2 separate regions of the Homo sapiens genome follow, and region 2 is linked to region 1. Evidence: promoter capture Hi-C in 16 types of primary human blood cells and fetal thymus (Javierre and others, 2016). All regions are on one chromosome and are shown on one strand. Each heading gives the region's core, a stretch centred on a gene start or on the middle of the fragment in contact. The rest is flanking DNA. Distances are from core to core; before and after follow the strand shown. Region 1 holds the start of CCER1 (coiled-coil glutamate rich protein 1). Region 2 has its middle 25 kb from the start of POC1B-GALNT4.

Evidence for each region. The method cuts DNA at HindIII sites, captures the fragments that hold promoters and counts their contacts. A CHiCAGO score of 5 or more calls a contact.
Region 2: a contact is called between a fragment that was not itself captured here and the fragment with the promoter of CCER1 in region 1, in 13 of 17 cell types (naive CD8 T cells, monocytes, total CD8 T cells and 10 more). The highest score is 13.2, in naive CD8 T cells.

Annotation. Positions count from the first base shown.
Region 1 is chr12:90,953,569-90,956,817 of GRCh38, forward strand. It overlaps CCER1 (coiled-coil glutamate rich protein 1), which reads right to left and starts at 1,608. Exons shown (of 1, transcript NM_152638.4): 1 at 1-1,608. The coding sequence starts at 1,174. RefSeq lists an enhancer at 517-616. The HindIII fragment of the contact is 2,103 bases long and covers 1-1,865 here.
Region 2 is chr12:89,549,219-89,552,467 of GRCh38, forward strand. No RefSeq gene overlaps it. Among named protein-coding and RNA genes, the nearest start is that of POC1B-GALNT4, 25 kb to the left of the region's middle. The HindIII fragment of the contact is 484 bases long and covers 1,280-1,763 here.

The DNA.
Region 1 (3,249 bases), core at 358-2,857:
TGGGAATTATCTGCTCTGGGTTTAAAAAAGTGCAGCTTATAAAGTTCTCTCTCTTTTCTTCAGCCTCTACGAAGATTGATAAAGGCATTTCCAGAGGCAAGTGAAATTCTTCCCCTCTCTGCTCGTTCTCCTCCAGGACCTCCTCTTCCTCTTCCAGCTCCTCCTCTTCCAGCTCCTCCTCTCCCTCCTCCACATATTCAGCCTCTTCGACCTCTTCTTCCTCCTCATCTTCGACCTCTTCCTCCTCATCTTCGACCTCTTCTTCCTCCTCGCTCGCCTCCTTTGCATCACACACCTCCTGGTCATACTCCTCCTCATCATCATTTTTCTTCTCCTCCTCTTCTTCCACCAGCAGCGGGGCAAGAGACTGGTTTTCCTCTGGGTTGGGACTGAATGCTAGAGAGGGATTCTGCACAAAGCCATACAGAGTTTCCTGCAGTCCCCAGGTTTCCTTGCTGCCGCCAGGGGGCGCGTCGTTTCCGGAGGATCTGGCTGGGGAGGCCTCGCCGCTCACCGTGGCCTTCTGCGCCCGCAGCGCCTCCTGCTGACGCTCCACCTTCTCCTGCTGCCTCATGTCCTCGTAGATCTGGTTCATGATGAATTGGGTGGTGTTGGGCGGCGCTCGCATGCCAGGCTCTCTCCACTCATACAGCTTGACCGGCCGCGGCAGCGTGCTCACATCCGCTGGCGGGCTCCGCGGGTAGGAGTGGCGAGGGTGGTGGCGCAGGCCGCGGCCTCTGCGGCCCCAGCGCTTCTTCCTGCCTGGGGGCTTCACCCAGCCAGGGTTCCAGGACCCGCTCCAGCAGGAGCAGCAGCAAAAGCAGAGAGGGTGCAGGCCATACACCCGAAACACTTGCACCGGGCAGGGGAATTTCCAGAATCCTGGAGGGGGTGGGCGCCAGGGCCCTCCCCAGCACCCCCAGTTAGAGCACACGGGTGGTTGGAACCAAAAGCCCGGGCCGTGCTGTTGCTTCGGCTGCTTCCTTGGGGGCCCATACTCGGTCTTGGGGCTATATCGGTGCGGTCTATTGTACGCTGGAGCACCCGGGCGCCTTCGATGGCAGGACGACCAGGAGCTCAAGGAGGCCGAGTGTGCCCAGCCACAGCCACAGCCGCCGCCGCCACCGCCGCCCAGGTTCAGAGGGTCTTCCCTTGTGTCGAGGGTCTGAGTCATGGTTCAGGGAGCTCCGAGAGGTCCAGATGGTAGCGACCTGAAGCTGTCGTCAAGTTTTGCCAGGTAGGACGGTCAGAAGAGCCTCGTCTCGTCAACCTGTCTCTCCACGCAGCGCCACGTGTCTACCCCTGGGATCACGTTTTCCTCTCCAGGAGGCTGCTCTCTTCCTGGTTTGCACGCTCTTCGGTAGTAATCGCTTGTCCTTCGCACCTGGGTTGTCTCGCCCAGGTGTGCTGGGTGGGACTGGGGCTGGGTAAGGATGGTGGGGGAGGAAGGTGTTGGCAGGCGACACGCAGTGAGACCCACTCCCGGGTCCCCACCACACCCGGCTCTGCTGAGGCACGGGCTGGGGCCGGGGGAGGCAGGGGTTGCGCAGTTACCTGCTGCTCCCTCTCAACCCAGGTGCTTCACTGTCGCCGTCCTGGCAGGACTGTGGTGGCGAGGGCAGCGGCAGCCTTTAAATACTGGCTGTGGTCTCCCGCGTGCCCACTGCGTTCTTGGTCACCCAGGGCAACAGCCAATTGGGGTCGAAATCGTCCTCCCTGTGTGCAAGGCCGGGTTCTGTCCGGAACCAGGCTCCAGGTGAACATTCGCAGGGGGCTTGTGACGCAGCGTTTGGGGGAGGTGAAGAGGGGTCCAGGCTGGGTTTCTGCTGCTCAATTCAAGCAAGTCTGGAGGCAGTTTATCCGAAAGCTTTGTATCACCTTGAGGCGGGGGTTTAGAAGATGGGCCTTCATCTGAACCCGGTGGGGGCGGGAGAACTTGAGTTTTGAAAACCCCACATTCTACACCTTTGGAGGGCCTAAGGGATCATGGAAAATTACTGGAGAAAGGAAACTTTGCCCAACCTCTTACCTTCTGGCCGGTGCCAACTCTTCTTACTCCTGAGAATTGGGATTCATAATACATAAAACAAGACCACGAACATTTATTATTGCATGTGCTCACTGACAAATAATCCTGTCATCTACCCTGAGAGGTAGGCGTATCTTATCACCTGTCACAGATGAGGGAACTGAGAGCTTAATTTCCCCATGGTTGTGGGGCTAATAAATTTCCAGGCTACGATTTAAGCCTAAACCTGTTTGACCCAAAAGTTAGGTTCCTAATGACATTGCTATGTGTTCTACCAAACCCCCAGTAGGACCCTTGTGATAACTAAATGACATAACATTTGGGAAGGTACTTTGCTATTGGTAATATACCGTACATGTGTACCTCAATTAAACAAATATTATTATTACCATAATGAATACCACAGGTTTGTCCTTGGGAAGAGGAATATTCTGATTGTCTTTCCTTTTGTCCCTTCACTGACCATACAGCATATACACGGGAAGCCTTTAAAGCATTGTGGTTAAGCATATGGGTTTTAATTTAAATAAATGGGATTCAACTTCAACTCACCAATTATTAATCTCTGTAAGCCTCAGTTTCCTTACCCATACCATGATTATACTACCTTTTCCATACGGTTGTGTAAAGAATTAAATGCATATAACAGGTCCTCTAATATTAATGTTTTGCTCAATGTCATTTCCTTATAACGTTGCTGAGGCAAAACAACAACAATAACAAAACCACGTTTCATTATATGTCTTCTCATTTAAAAGTAGCAGTTTCCAAGAACCTATGATGCTAAGTGAGGACTTACTGTAATTCCTTCAAGTACTTAGTGCAGGTACCCTGTAAGTACTCAGTAACTGTTAACTATCATCCTTATTTGTAAATACTTCATGACTTCTAAAAGAGATGATATAGTATATGTAAAGGCACTTGTTCTTGATGCAAAAATAGGCATCCCCACCCTGGCTTGTGTCCTTTTCTTGTCCTTCTTTGTAAAACGTCAAGGAAAGTGCTACCATACTTGGTCCTAGAGAAAACCGTCTCAGTTTATATCCCTTTCTTACTTTTCTGTGCTGAGTGGAATTGCACAAAATGGAAAACTGCCTGCTGGGAACTTCAGTCTATATAAGGCTCCATTAAATGCCAGAAAAGCAAAATGTGTGAAAGCCCTGAAGCTGGCAAAGGTCATTTATGCATTCCTGGCTGAAAATTGAGAACATTATAGGGGG
Region 2 (3,249 bases), core at 272-2,771, 1.4 Mb before region 1:
ACATTAATAGCCATAGAGATTATATTTATAAGACTAGATAATATAACACAGAAGAGAGTACATAATAGAGACAAGAACCAAAGACTAAGGCCTGGAGCACTACCAGAGAAGCACCCAATAATATAGAAAGAAAGAACAGCCAGTTCCATCCCAGAGTATTTCAAGTCTGCAACAGGACTAGTTGACTTAACACCACTTGCCACTGTAATAATTACTTCCCAGGAAAATAAGTCCAAGGATATTTTTCCAGTTTCTATGCCAAGCCATGATAATGATTAATTGCACAGTACCTGGCACATGGTAAGAGCTTCCTAATTATTACAAGTTGTTGAATGAATTATTTCAGGGCTCTGGGAATAAGCCAAAATCTCTTGAGACTTGAGCCTTTATTAGAGAGACCTGATATATGAGACACATTTAGGGCCTTTCCCTTTTGGGCTCTCCAGGAATATTGAGGACCAGATATATCAAGGTGATCCAACCTGAAACTAAACTGGAAGCCAGCAGGCTGCTCCATGCAAATCATCTGTGTTTCCTTCCTAATCAATTCTATCTGTTGTTTTTTTTTTTTTTCCTTGAACATCTATCCTTCTGCCTCAGAGCCTTTGGACTTGCTGTTCTCTTAGTCTGGATCATCTACTCCTTTGAATAGCTCATTGTCTCTCTTTACTGAAGTTTCAGTTTAAATTCACCTCTTCAGAGAAGCCTACGACTACTGTTGATCACTAGTGATCATTGTTTGGCCTCAGCCTACACTAGTCTCTTCCACTTATCTTTCTCTTTATACCACTTACTACTGCCTGCCATGGTATTATATTTATTTGGTTGGTTGGTTATCCTCTGATTCTCCCACTAAAAGGCAGTCTCCCTGAGACAGGGATTTATTTTGTTCTTCTTCCATCCGCAATATGTAGATCTAGAACAAAGCCTCGCCACTAGCAGGAAACTTGATAAATGTTGGTTTATGAATGAATCCACTCTCTCAGATCTGTTCCAGATACCACTGGACCAGTTAAAAATTATATGGATTTCCCACCATGTGGAAAGATTATTATTCAGCATAAGTAAAAGTGAAGAACACGTGATCCCAAACCCACAAAAGCCTGCAATCCGGTTGCTCTAGGTTAGACTGTTAGGCTGATAGCAGTTTACTTCCCATAATTCTATTTCCTGCCAGGCTCCCGAGAGGAGAGACAGTGCTTTGGGTGAAGAACAACACTCATTTTAGCAGAGGTTCCATGGTGTTTTCCATGAGAGTCATCTCTGGGCAAACAATGTAAGCTTCAAAGTAAATTTAGTTTCTCATCTGGGATGAATAACTTGTAATTGTGTCTTATAAATTGTACCCAGCAATCCTTTTCTCACCCCTAGCCCTTGAAGATTGGAGGAAATGGTGTTTCTGACTACACCAGTAACAGGATGGGAGCTTATTTTAAAGACACTTGTAGGAAAGGCTTTGGAGAAAAACTAGCTTATCGGGAGACTCCTAATTCAGGATCTTATATCCTTGATTAAACTCTGACTTTTACAATTTCCCAAAGTACACACACACACACACGCACACCAGAATTAACTGATTCAGAATGAAACCAGCTAACACAGTGGCGCATTGTGTAGAGGTTGATCTCTATTGTGACCTAACTCCATGGACTACATGGAGTTATAAGAACCAAAACTAGGTATTTGTGTGACCAAAAGATAAGGAAATTAAGAATACCTAAGGCTATTAAAGGAAAAAAAATAAGAAGGTAAGCAATAAGAAAAGCTTTCAGAGTCTCACAGCTCAGTCCTCTGTTAGGAGGTAAAAGTTTTATTTCTGTCTCAAGCGTAGGCTTAGGCAAACCCAAGTCTTGCTCTTTGTGGTGGGCTTATGAGCAGGGTGAATGGAAAAAGGGAAATTCCTGGCAAGCTCTGGCTTGGAGATGGTACAAAAAAACCTCAGTAAGTATAGTGTATTTCCTTCTTTCCTGAATCCATACTAACTTGCCCAGTAAAACTTTCTTTAGTCCTTTACTGATTCCAAGACTTATTTTAATTTTTGCCTTTCAATTCTTATTTCCTTTCCCACAGATGGTACTGGCTAAAACAGAAGCCTGTAAAAGTAAAGCTTAAAAGACGTTCTTTCCTTTTTTTGGCTTTAAAATGTTTCACATGACTACATGATAGTCCCACCTCATCCACCCACACTTACATTTTTCCTCTTCCTAGCATTAATAGGTCTAAACATGCAGTTAGGCAGGAAATTTAGAATAAGAAACTTTATTATTTTCTTGCCTCTTAGAGGAGTTTTCAAAAAAATATTGGAGGGGTTCTGATTCCAGGTACAACGGAGTAAGTGTACTCACACCACCCTGTTCCTCCCACTGAATGCGGCTAAAAAACCTGGGCAGAATAAGTGGAGCATCTGAGGACTCTGAAAAGTAAATAATAGCAGGCAGATTGGAGATGAAGACCAAAATGGTGAGTGTGTCATCTTTTCCCCTCCAGTTTCCTTTGAAATGAACACAAGACTGCCTGAAACCCAACATAGATACTAAGACACAGAGAGAGCTCAGGTGGGATCCTCCAATTATGGCTCGTAGAGTGGGAAAGGAATGCCTAGCACTAGGAGATGAAAACAATTATTTTAATTTTTTCCCCTTTTCCCCAGTCTTTTATTTATGTTAGCCCCTACTAATTACTGCAGTGGTAGCAATAACAGGAGCACATGGGAGTCACAACTGAGAAAGAGGAACATGCCTCTCCAGTTGGAGGAGCTGTGGCCCAGAGAGGGTGCGGCAAACTCCTGTGGCTTTTTCTACCTCCATGTTCCCTCATCACTTGATCTGAGATGTGGGGACAGTTTCAGAAAGTGCACAACAAAGTAAGGCTACCAGAAACCCAGATTTCTGACCAGAGAACAAGGTGAGAGCCCCAGGACACCAAGGGGTACTAAGGAGATCACAGAGAAAAAGGGATTCAGGATTATAGCCCTTAAAATTGTTTATGAGCTCTTGGGCTCACCCTTGATTTGGAAAGGCACAGATCTGATGCTACCCAACATAGGCATAAAGAACTGAACCAAAAGACTGTCCACTGCCCAGATCTTTGGCTTGAGACTGGGGAGGCACATACATGAGACAGATTTGAGCAGGACTACAAAGTCTTTATAAAACAGACTAGCATTGGAATCTTAACCCACAAATGGCTGGTCAGAATTTATGAGCTGAACCCATTGTGTCAATTACCTGCTAAAACAAAAATATAAAC